Regions from separate parts of the Homo sapiens genome. Here region 2 is linked to region 1. The links are contacts of gene promoters, found by promoter capture Hi-C in human tissues and cell types (Jung and others, 2019). All regions are on one chromosome and are shown on one strand. The core of a region is centred on a gene start or on the middle of the fragment in contact, and the rest is flanking DNA. Distances in the headings are between cores, read along the strand shown.

Evidence for each region. Contacts are between HindIII fragments. The study calls those that stand out against the background at their distance.
Region 2: a fragment that was not itself captured here is called in contact with the fragment with the promoter of ZBTB46 in region 1 in 7 of the 25 tissues and cell types used here (dorsolateral prefrontal cortex, heart left ventricle, liver and 4 more).

What each region holds. Positions count from the first base shown.
Region 1 is chr20:63,828,585-63,834,853 of GRCh38, reverse strand. It overlaps ZBTB46 (zinc finger and BTB domain containing 46), which reads left to right and starts at 3,590. Exons shown (of 5, transcript NM_001369741.1): 1 at 3,590-3,757. RefSeq lists a silencer at 3,433-3,572 and an enhancer at 5,155-5,846. The HindIII fragment of the contact is 9,346 bases long and covers 1,617-6,269 here.
Region 2 is chr20:63,719,299-63,725,567 of GRCh38, reverse strand. All of the region lies in intron 2 of ZGPAT (zinc finger CCCH-type and G-patch domain containing), which reads right to left. Among named protein-coding and RNA genes, the nearest start is that of LIME1, 14 kb to the left of the region's middle. The HindIII fragment of the contact is 9,604 bases long and covers 1-6,269 here.

The sequences.
Region 1 (6,269 bases), core at 2,341-4,840:
TGGTGGTGTCAGAGCACCTGGAATGGGGCTGGGTCCCCTCCCAGATCCCCATCCCCTAGAAGCCACACAGTGAGGGTGGAGGGCAGGTGGCCGGCTGGCAGGGTAAGTGGTGCAGGGAGTCTGTGAACACAGGTCTGCGGAGAGGCCATAAGCGCGAGGCTGTGCCAGGACCCTCGGGGGGCCCTGCCAGCCAGATGGCTCTCCATTTGTGTCTCTGGTTGAGTTTTCCCAGGGGTTTGTGGGGGGCACGTCCCTCAGCAGGTACATCCGTGGGGCTGCCCAGCCTCTGCACCTTGCCCTGAGCCCCCCGTCCTCCAGAACTCCTGGCCTGCTGCCGCTCATCCCTCATAGGCCTCAGGGTCCCTTGGACAGGCTCCCAACGTGCTCACCCAGATGGCTGGGGGTGACTTTCAGGAATGACCACGTAATGCAGCGTGGACAAGTGTGCCCTACAGAGACCTGACCTTTTGTTCACCTGTCTTGTTCACCCACTTGGCGAGGTCAGGGACCATGTCCAGTTCATCATGTCACCCTCAGGGGCCCCACCCTCTGGACCCTCCCAGACACCCATGTGCTGGCCTCCCAGCCCTGATCCCAATGCTGCTGAGGCCACACTTCACATTCTCTGTTCCCAGAGCTGCCTCCCAGCCGGCTGTCAGGCGGCAGATCCCTCCTTGCATCTGTGGCCCCCAGGCCTGGTGTGCGTCACCTGCACAAGTGTCCCGGGGCCCTAGGAAGAGGGGGCACCGCGGCCCAGCCTGGCATCCCCCCGTCTCATGTCTAATCCCAGCAGCAGCTCAGTAGATGCTGGGCTCCAACAAACCTGAGGTTCCTGGGCCACGGGGCCAGCATGCCCGTCGGAGCAGACACTCCACGTGGCTGTAGGAGTCCAACTACTCCACCCTCCTCGTCCTCCCAGTTCGGCTGAGAGGCTGCAGCTGCTGCTGCTGGTTTTTGTTTGTTTTTCTTTTAAATAGTAATGGGGTTTATCAGCTCTTGGAATAACGGTCTGTAGGACTTAATCAGGGCGCTGTCTCTGAGACCGGTCTTGGTTCTTCCTTTTTGACATACTGTCTTCGTCTCCAGGCTGCTTGACCTTCTGTTGGTTCTTGGAGCAGAAAAGTCAGGAGTCTCTGTCCCGTCACTGGCAGTGTTGCCGAGGGGGAAGCGGGGAGGAGTGGGGCTCCCAGGTGAGAGGGGGCCCAGAGCCTCATCCGCCCCGTTCATTCTAGAACTCAGCACGTTTCTTTTTTTTTCTTTTTTGAGACAGAGTCTTGCTCTGTCGCCCAGGCTGGAGTGCAGCGGCACGAACTTGGCTCACTGCAAGCTCCACCTCCCGGGTTGACGCCATTCTCCTGCCTCAGCCTCCCGAGTAGCTGGGACTACAGGCACCTGCCACCACGCCTGGCTAATTTTTTGTATTTTTAGTAGAGACGGGGTTTCACCGTGTTAGCCAGGATGGTCTCGATCTCCTGACCTCGTGATCCGCCTGCCTCGGCCTCCCAAAGTGCTGGGATTACAGGCGTGAGACACCGCGCCCGGCCCTCAGCAAGTTTCTACCAAGACAGGCAGCCCTAACCTGGCAGGTGGGGTTGGCCTGGGTCGTGGTGAGATCAAGGTTTGGTTCTTATGGGCAGGCCTCCTAAGCGATGACTGAGTGCCACTGTGTGTTCCGCCAGGCAGCTGCTGCTGCTCTCCATCCCTGCATGGACAACGGACATGGCAAACCATCAACACTGCTCTCCTTGGAGGCTGTCTAGGGAGGTCCAGACATCTTGGGAGAGACTGGGGTTCTCTTTTGCGCAAGAGAGCATGGGCAGGCTCTGCGGGAGGCCCTTGGGGCAGGCATCAGGGCTCTGGTCCTCCTTGCTTTGGCTCGGTGGGCCCGAGCTCTCCTGTCTCCCCAGGCCTCCTTTCCTCCGTGGGGTACAACTGGGCTCTGGGTGGGCAGGTGGGGGCTCCTGCAGGCAGTGCTGTTTTCTCCAAGGGGGATGCACGTGACCCGCCAGACCCTCCTGGAAGCCGCCTCTTCTCAGGGTGGTTGTGCTCAGCCCCCACTTCCCGAAGGTCGGTGAGGCTGGGGCTACAGTTTCAGACCAGAGCAGGCAGTGCCACCGAGAGGGTGCCGCGCGAGGTAGGCCGGCGACGGGGCTTCCTGGGCCGCAGTGCCATCCCGGCGACCTTGGCGAGGGGATGGGAACGGGGTGTCCGCACAGCCATTTCCAGGCGCCCGCGACGGCAGTAAGGGAGTGTCCCAGGCGTTGGTCCCGGCAGCCACACCTCGCTTCGCCTTTGCTCACTCATGGAGAGCCCTCAGCCGCCTCCCACTGCCGCTCCTGAATGCGCCTCACACATCCAGATTTGAAAGCACCCATAGGGCCGCCGCCTCCCACCTCCCGAGGAATCCGCTGCGCTGGGCCCGCAGGGAGGCAGGCTGGACGGCCCGGGCGCCTCCCCATTGGTTGGCCGGGCCGGGCTCGACTCCCTCGCGCGGCTGCCGGCCACAGGCTCACCTCCCTTCCCGCCGCGCCCGGGGAGAGGAAGCGAGGTGGCCTTTACCCCTGCGCAGGCCGGCCAGGAATGCGGGGCCGCGCTTCCCACTCTACCCGCCCGAGGGCTGAGGACGGCGGAGGCGAGAAGCGACGCGCAGAGTCCGGGCGCCGAGTGGTGGAGACGCGTCCCAGGCCGTTCGGATCGGGGCTGCACACGGGCTGGGGCGAGGCCCGGGCCGCTGGTTCCCGCCCCCTCCCGGAGCCATTCGTCCCCCGCAGACAACACGACGGGAGGGACCCACGCGCGGCCGCCGGTGCCCCTAGTCAGCCAAAAGCGAGCCCCACTGGCGGGCACCCCCACGAGGCCTGCGCCCGAGGTGCGCCGATCTCCGGGTGCGCCGAGGCCCCCGAGGGTAGGCGCGCGCGGTGCCCAGGCCCTTCCAGACCCCGCACCCCGGGCGGCCTTCCTTGGGGGCGCCTTTTCCGCACCGCGAGCGGCCCGCGTTGATGCCCGGCCGGGCTGGGGGAGTCGCCAAGTTTGCGAGACGCGCGCAGTGCAACCGCGCGTCAGGCGCGGGGACGGCCGGTGACCTGGGCACCCGCGCGCCCCCGAGGAACCTGCGCGTGGGCAGCGCCCGGTGCGCGGCCCGGGAAGGGAGCGGGTGCCCTCGCCGGGGTCGCCGCTCCCGTGGGGTGTTTCCAGGCTGCTCCGCGCTCGCGGGGCAAGGGCGCAGCGGGGGCCAGGGGGACCCCCGCGCCGCGCCGCCCCAGCCCCCCGCCAGCCCAGGGGAGGGGGCTTCCCACAATGCCCAGCGAGCTCCAGCCCGCACTTCCGCTGTCCGGCTGCCCGCGGGGGGGAGAACGGACCCCCGGCGCGGCCCCCTGCGACCCCGCGGCGCGGCGCCGGGAGCCGAGCGAGGGGCGGGGCCGGCGGCCGGGCCGGCGTGGGCGGGGCCCGGGGCGGTGGCCGCGGCCGGGGCGCGGCGCGGGCCAATCAGCGGCGGCCGGGCGCGCGCCGGGGGGCGGGGTCAGGGTCCGCGGGCGGGGCGCGCGCGCGCGGGCGGCGGGGGCCGCGGGGTTGGAGCGGGCGCGGGGGCGCGCGCCGGCCTGACGGACCGACGGACGGACGGACGGACCGAGCAGCCCCGGCGAGCGCGCAGCTCGGACCCGCCCGGACGCAGCGCCCTCCCGGCGGCGGCGGCGATCACCGGCGCCGGCCCGGCGGCCGCGGCGCCCGCCCTCGCCCGCGCCCCATGGGGTCACAGGTAAGCGGCGCCGGCTCATTGTCCGCGCGGCCGGGCGGGCGCATCGCGGCGGGGGCCGGGCCCGGAGCCGGGAGCCGGGAGCCGGGGCCGCTGCGAGCCCGGGCGCGCCCCCGCCGCCGGCCGCCCCGCCACGCCCCGCCCCGCGGGGGCGCCCTCCCGGGGGCCATCGGCGCTCCCAGCTGCGGCGCGGGCTCCGGGGGCGGCGGCGGAGACCCCGGCCCGGCCCCCGCGGGTGCCCCCCAGGCCGGCGGCGCGGGGCGGGGCGCGCGGGGGCGGCGCGGGTTCCCCGCGGGGCTGAGCGCGGAGGCGGCTGGGCTGCCCCGGCCCCTCGGCCCCCGGCACCTCCCGCCGCCGCCGCGCTCCCTCCCCGGCACCTCCGAGAGGGGAATTTTCCAGCTGGTAATTTCTGCTGCGTCAACGCCTGGCCCCGAGGCAGCCCGGGGGCGTCTTGGCGCCCCCCGCCCGCGCCCCCCGCCGGCACAGCCCAGCCGCACCCGGAGCCGCCCGCGCCGAGTTTGCCAAGAGTCGGAACTGCGGGAGGTGGGCGCGGGCGGGTCCCGGCGCCCTGAGGCCGGGGGGTCATTGTCTCCCCGGACGCCGGGCGCCGGCCTGGTCTCCATCTTAATCGCCGGCCGAACCGGGGCGCAGGGGCCTCGGGGCGGGGCGGCTCGGGGCGCGGAGGGCTCGGGGCGCGCGGGGCGGACGGGGCGCGCGGAGGAAGCGGGGTCCGCTGCGAGCCGCGTCTTTGTTTCTCTGTAAATAGACATGTCAGTTTCGCGGGGGAGCGCGAGCCGGTGTCTGACAACTCAATCCCTAAGGCAAACGGGGAATTCTCTGCGCCAGAGGGAGGGCTCCTGCTAGTTGGGGTTCCCCTGGCCCCGCTGACAGATTCACTGTTTGTAGGTTTAACGAAGCACACACAATAGGGCTGGACCGAGGAGCCAGGGTACAGACCAGATGGGGCGAAGAACGGATATTTTCTGACAGCGAAGAAATATAAACAAAAGAAAGTTTGAGATTCGCAGCGAATTTCCTCTCTCGCTTTCCGTGCTGCAATCTCAACGATGCATTTGGAGTGGATTACGGTGGCAAGATTGTGATCAGCATTGTTTAAAGAAATGCTAATTAGAAACGTGTTTAGCGCGCGGCCTGGGCGCAGACACCTGTGCGCCGAGAACTCACGGGCATTTTAATTGTATCGATTGTAGAATCTTTCATATTGGCTCTATTATCAGAGCTAACTTCCCGTTTGGGTAACAGACTGGATACATCTCTGCTGCTGGCACTCACGCTGCCTCTGCAAGGCACTATTTCACTCTACAAGAGTGGAAAATAGTTTGTTCATCAAAAGGAAATGTATAGAAGGGGTTTTTCACATGAATAATGAAGCAAGCGACAGTATTTATCAGAGTAGAACCTTTCTGCTCGGTGTGTTTTACGTGTTTCCAACTGGCACTTTTGGGCACCTCAGCCTGGTTACCACTGCAGAAAGGACTGAGGAGTGAGGGGAGTACTTGGGCACAAGTTACTGCAAATTTAGGTGGGAACTTACTGTGTCCCCTAAAAAGCTAGACATCTTCTCCGTAACTGAAGGAAGAGGGCTGGGGAGTTACTGTCAGATTTCTCCTTGGGGCGTGGAATGCACTCACTTTGAGGTGTTTAGAAATCCGAAATTCCGCCTTGCCTTCAGGCCAGCCTGGGGACAAGCATTTAATTAAGCCTCTCACTGACAGCATTATCCTGAACGTGAGAGTTTTCTTTTGCTTAGATGAGGTGATTTCTGTTCGGGTTTAGCTGTTTTGTGTGAGGATGAGTCGTTCTGTGCTCAGACCTGAGTTCCACTCCTGTTTCGGATGTTCGGGTTGGGTGGACTGTTACCTAAGGGCCCCCAGGTCAGTTCCACCAGGGCCAGGCTGACCCAGTGCCCTGCGTCCTCCGTCCCTCCCCAGCCCCTGGTGGTCACAGAGGTCAGGAGGTAAACCCTGTGAACGGTGAAACTGCTCCAAGGATTTAGAGGAAATGCCGTGGGGGGTACACAGTTGTTATTGTCAGACGATGTACTATTTACAAACACTGAATTAAATTTTAGCAGAGTGAACTTTCCAACACTGCCCTGACGTGGGGTTTTTAAATTAAGGGAAATTGGGCCACTCTGTCCCTGTGGCCTGTGTTTCTGGGACAGCGGTGCAGCTCCAGTGCTCTGTTCTCCATCAGAGGTCTTAGCCCGGCCTCTCAGAGCCCTGGAGACCCACTTCGTGCACGGTGCCTAGACGGCTCCACAGCCTGAGAACTGGAGCCGGTTCCTCCCACTGCCGTGACTGGTGCCCAGGCACCCGCTCCACTGCTGAGTTAAAGTGAGAGGAAAGGTCTAGAAGTCCTTGCCCCTTCCCATCCGCACACCCAGTGTCACGGCGTCTGCCGTGGTAGGTTCCCTGTCCTGGGGACTTCGTGTTCTTGCCTAAGTACCGTTCTTGTAAAAACTCAGGCTGCTGCTTCTCCCTGGGCTTTGCAT
Region 2 (6,269 bases), core at 872-3,371, 110 kb after region 1:
CATCACAAACTACTAAAGGCCAAAGACAAAGAGAAAATCTTGAAAACATCAAGAGAAAAAAAGATAATTCTTCAAGTACAAAGGGACAATTTGACAGATGACTTCTCATCAGAAACAATGGAACCCAGAAGGTAGCATGATGACACTTTTAAACACTGAAAAGAATGATCAATTAATAATTCTATAGCCAGCTAAACTATCCTTCAAAAAATGAAGCTGAAATAAAGACATTCCCAAATAAACACTGAATTGGTTGCTAGCAAGCCTGTCCTACAAGAAATTCTAGCCGGGCGCGGTGGCTCACGCCTGTAATCCCAGCACTTTGGGAGGCCAAGGCGGGCGGATCACGAGGTCAGGAGATCAAGACCATCCTGGCTAACACGGTGAAACCCCATCTCTCCTAAAAATACAAAAAATTAGGTGGGCGTGGTGGCAGGCGCCTGTAATCCCAGCTACTCGGGAGGCTGAGGCAGGAGAATGGCGTGAACCCGGGAGGCGGAGCTCGCAGTGAGCCGAGATCGTGCCACTGCACTCCAGCCTGGGAAACAAGAGCGAGACCCCATCTCAAAAAAAAAAAAAAAAAGAAATTCTAAATGGGCTGGGCGTGGTGGCTCATGGTAATCCCAGCATTTTGGGAGGCCAGGACAGGCAGATCATGAGGTCATGAATTCGAGACCAGCCTGGCCAACATAGTGAAACCCTGTCTCTACTAAAAATACCAAAAAAATTGGCTGGGGGTGGTGGCAGGTGCCTGCAGTCTCAGCTACTTGGGAGGCTGAGGCAGGAAAATCACTCTAACCAGGGAGGCAGAGGTTGCAGTGATCTGAGACTGCACCATTGCACTCCAGCCTGGGCAACACAGTGAGACTTTGTCTCAAAAAAAAAAAAAAAAAATTCTAAATGAAGTTCTTCAGACTAAAAGGAAATGACACTAGACAGTAACTCAAATTCACAGGAAAGAAAAAGGGGCAAAAAAAAGAAAGGTAAAATATGGATGATACAAAAAAACAAGTATACTTTTTTTCTCTTTGAATTTCTTTCTTTTTTAAATAGAGATGGAGTCTCGCTATGTTGCCCAGGCTGGTGTTGAACTCCTGGCCTCAAGTGATCCTCCTGCCTTGGCCTCCCAAGGCTTTGGGATTACAGGCATGAACCACAGTGTCCAGATCTTAATTTCTTTTCTTTTCTTTTTTTTTTTTTTTTTAGGCAGAGTCTCGCTCTGTCATCTAGGCTGTAATGCAGTGGTGCGATCTTGCTCACTGCAACCTCCGCTTCCCAGGTTCAAGCGATTCTCTTGCCTCAGCCTCCCGAGTAGCTGGGATTACAGACACCCACCACCACACCCGGCTACTTTTTGTATTTTTAGTAGAGACGGGGTTTCACCATGTTGGCCAGGCTGGTCTTAAACTCCTGACCTCCGGTGATCCACTCACCTCAGCCTCCCAAAGTGCTGGGATTAGAGATAAAAGCCACCATTCCTAGTCCCTTTACTTCTGAGATAAGATCTGCACCCAGGCTGGAGTGCAGTGGCACAATCTCAGCTCACTGCAGCCTTGACTTCCCAGGCTCAAGTGATCCTCCCACCTTAGCTGGGATCCTCCCCCAAATAGCTGGGACTACAGGCGCGTGCCACCATGCCAGACTAATTTTTTGTAATTTTGGTGGAGATGGGTTTCGTCATGTTGCCCAGGCTGGTCTCCAACTCCCTGGCTCAGGCGATCTGCCCACCTCAGCCCCCAAAAGTGCTGGAGTTAAAGGCATAAGCCACTGCCTCCAGGCAACTTCTTTCAAAATACTTTTGAAGCAATAATTATAACGCTGAAGAGCTGAAGTTATAACATACATAAATGTATATATGGCAATAATACATGAAGGAGAAGAGGGGATGGAGCTATGTCAGAGGAGAAGGGAGGATGGAGCTATGTCAGAGGACAAGGGAGGATGGAACTATGTCAGAGGAGAAGGGAGGATGGAGCTATGTCAGAGGAGAAGGGAGGATGGAGCTATGTCAGAGGAGAAGGGAGGATGGAGCTATGTCAGAGGAGAAGGGAGGATGGAGCTATGTCAGAGGAGAAGGGAGGATGGAGCTATGTCAGAGGAGAAGGGAGGATGGAGCTATGCCAGAGGAGAAGGGAGGATGGAGCTGTGTCATAGGAGAAGGGAGGATGGAGCTGTGTCATAGGAGAAGGGAGGATGGAGCTGTGTCATAGGAGAAGGGAGGATGGAGCTGTGTCATAGGAGAAGGGAGGATGGAGCTGTGTCATAGGAGAAGGGAGGATGGAGCTATGCCAGAGGAGAAGGGAGGATGGAGCTGTGTCAGAGGAGAAGGGAGGATGGAGCTATGACACAGGAGAAGGGAGGATGGAGCTATGTCAGAGGAGAAGGGAGGATGGAGCTGTGTCATAGGAGAAGGGAGGATGGAGCTATGTCAGAGGAGAAGGGAGGATGGAGCTGTGTCATAGGAGAAGGGAGGATGGAGCTATGCCAGAGGAGAAGGGAGGACGTCATAGGAGGAGGGAGGATGGAACTATGTCAGAGGAAAAGGGAGGTTGGGACTGTGCTATAGGAAAATGGAGGGGGAACTATGTCATAGTACAACGGAAGTAGATCTATGTTATAGACACGTTGCCATACTTAGGCTCAGTGCAGTCGCTCACACCTGTAATCCCAGCACTTTGGGAGGCCAAGATGGGCGGATCACCTGAGGTCAGCAGTTCGAGACCAGCCTGACCAACATGGTGAAACCTCATCTCTACTAAAAATACAAAATTAGCCGGGTGTGGTGGGGGTGCCTGTAGTCCCAGCTACTCAGGAGGCTGAGGCAGGAGAATGGCGTGAACCTGGGAGGCGGAGGTTGCAGTGAGCCGAGATCACACCATTGCACTCCAGCCTGGGTGACAGAGTGAAACTCCATAAAAAAAAAAATGCTGTACTTTAAGTGTTAAGTTAGTAATAATCTGAAGTACATTGTGGTAAGTTAAAGATGTACATTGTCATCTCTAGAGCAACCACTAAGAAAATAACTTAAAACAGCATAGCTAAAAATTCAGCAACAGAGCTGGATATCACCAAAATGATGGAGTTGGCAGCTCCAAAGATCCGTCTCTCCAGCAAAGCAACTATTCTGCTGTCAAAACTGTCACAATAAACTTTTTTCTATTCAGCTGTCAAAACTGTCACAATAAACTTTTTTCTATTAAACTGTCAAAACCTCCCAATAAACTTTTCTGTAACTCTGGTGTCTACGAACCAGATGACTGCTCAATGAAGTAAGACCCTGCTAAATTTCAGGAGGACAGCTGGGCTATTTCTGCTCAGCCACTACTACCAGCTCACATGTAGCCATGGGGAAGGCAACCTGTATTTCTGATGTGGCTTGCTGGTGTCAGAAGGGATGATACAGACCTTTTCTCAAGGAATCCTGCTTATGCATTTGGATCTTTCTAGTGTCTCCCTGAAGGGCTTGCCTTTGTTTCACCCCCTCGAACTCTCTCAGGGCTGGGGCAGCCTCCAGGGTCGTGCTGTTGATGGCATTTTTTTTTTTTTTTTTTCCCCGAGATGGAGTCTCACTCTGTCGCCCAGGCTGGAGTGCAATGGCACGATCTCAGCTCACTGCAACCTCCGCCTCCCAGGCTCAAGCAATTCTCCTGCTTCAGCCTCCCGAGTAGCTGAGATTACAGGCACCCACCACGCCCAGCTAATTTTTGTATTTTTACTAGAGACGGGGCTTCACCATGTTGGCCAGGCTGGTCTCGAACTCCTGACCTCAAGCAATTCACCCGCCTCGGCCTCCCAAAGTGCTGGGATAACAGGTATGAGCCACCGCGCCTGGCCTGAAGGCATTTACAGGTAGATACTACCTGAAGTTGTGGGGGAGGGACAACAACAGATGGGCAAAGAGCTGACAGAAAAGCCTAGGAAGGAAGAGGCTGGGAAAAGAGCTACATGAAGGTCTAAGGGCTTTGGAAAGCTCCTGTTCATGCTTGGAAATCCAGAAGGCCATGCACACAGCTGGGGCTAGACAGGGGCTCAGAAACACCTGAGGAGGCCCTCAACTTTCACCTCTGGTTCATCCTTAGGCTCCATGGGAGCAAGAAGTAAAGGCTGAGGAAAAGCCGTGAACAGCCTGGCGGACACTGAAGGACTTGCCCCAGTACAGAGGCAACCTGGAAAGGATGGAAGACACTCTTTATCCTTTTTTTTTTTTTTTTTATTTGAGACAGAGTCTCGCTCTGTTGCCCAGGCTGGAGTGCAATGGCGCAATCTCAGCTCACTGCAACCTCCGCCCCCTGGGTTGAAGCGATTCTCCTGCCTCAGTCTTCCCAGTAGCTGGGACTACAGGCAGGTGCCACCATGCCCGGTTAATTTTTGTATTTTTAGTAGAGACAGGGTTTCACCATACTGGCCAGGCTGATCTTAAACTCCTGACCTCAAGTGATCCACCCGCCTCCACTTCCCAAAGTCCTAGCATTACAGGCGTGAGCCACTGCGCCCGGCCTCTTTATCCTTTTTGCCACTAGATATTTAAAGAAATCTCTTTCAAAGCACAAGCTAACCACTAACCTAAAAGAACAGAAACAAGCACCCCTGACAGAATATAATCTTTATTTAAAAAGGTCAGGAAAGTAACTAAACAAACGAGAAACGACAATCCACAACAAACAGCAACAATGAACCCTGCAGAGGGCGGAGGATCTGATTTTCAAAGTAACCACATTATCATCTTCAAATTGTGCAGGTTTCAACAAAAAATTACAAGGCATGCAAAGAAACAAGAAAGTGTGGCCCATTCACCGGAAATAAAGAAATTAACAGGCCGGGTGCGGTGGCTCACACCTGTAATCTCAACACCTTGGGAGGCCAAGGTGGGATGACTGCTTGAGCCCAGGAGTTCAAGACCAGTCAGAGAAATGTAGCAAGACCCTGTGTCTAAAACAGTAACAACACAACCAGCCAGGCATGGTGGCACATGCTTGTAGTTCTAGCTACTCAGGAGACTAAGGTGGGAGACTCACTTAAGCCTGGACGGTTAAGGCTGCAGTGTGCCAGGGTTGTGCCACTGCACTACAGCCTGGGTGAGAGAGGGAGACTTTGTCTCAAAAAATAAAAAATAGGCTGGGCGCGGTGGCTCACACCTGTAATTCCAGCACTTTGGGAGGCCGAGGCAGGAGGATCATGAGGTCACGAGATCGAGACCATCCTGGCTAACACGGCAAAACCATGTCTCTACTGAAAATACAAAAAATTAGCCAGGAGTGGTGGCACGCACCTATAGTCCCAGCTACTCAGGAGGCTGAAGCAGGAGAATCGCTTGAACCCAGGAGGCAGAGGTTGCAGTGAGCCAAGATCAAGCCATTGCACTCCAGCCTAGGCTATAGAGTGAGACTCCATCTAAAAAAAAAAGAAAATTAAAAAAAATTTTTTAAAAATAAAGAAATTAATAGAAACTGTTCCTGAGGAAGCCTAGACATTTGAATGACTAGACAAAAACTTTCAATCAATTACCTTAAATACACTAAAAAAAGAGGCTGGGCACAGTGGCTCACATCTGTAATCCCAGCATTTTGGGAGGCTGAGGCGGACAGATCACCTGAGGTTAGTAGTTTAAGACCAGTCTGGCCAATGTGGTGAAACCCAGTTTCTACTAAAAATACCAAAAATTAGGTGGGTGTGGTGGCACATGCCTATAATCCCAGCTACTTGGGAGGCTGAGGCAGGAGAATCACTTGAACCCAGGAGGCGGAGGTTGTAGTGAGCCAAGATTGTGACATTGCCTGCCAGCCTGGGTGACAAGAGTGAAACCCCGCTTCAAAAAAAAAAAAAATTAATAACTAAATAAAAAGAAATTTAAAAATAAAGGAAACCATGGATAATGAACTAAAGGAAAACAAAAGAACCATGTCTAACCAAATAGAGAATACTAGTAAAGTGATAATTACTACAGAAAGAAACCAAATAGAAACTTTGGAGCTAAAAAGTACAGTAACTGTAGTGAAAATTTCACCAGAAGTTTCAACAGCAGATTTGAGAAGGAAGAAGAAAGAAACAGTGAACTTGAGGACAGGTCAGCTGAATTTATCCAAAATGAGGAGCAGAAAGAAAAAAAGAACAAAGAAAAATGCCTAGAGCCCAAGGGACCTGTGCTACACCATGAAGCACATCAATGTATGCATAAAGTTCCATAAGCGGCAAACAGACAGAAAGAAACAAAACTAGTATTTCAAGATGCAAAGAATAGTAGCTGAAACTTTGCAAATTTAATGAAAGAC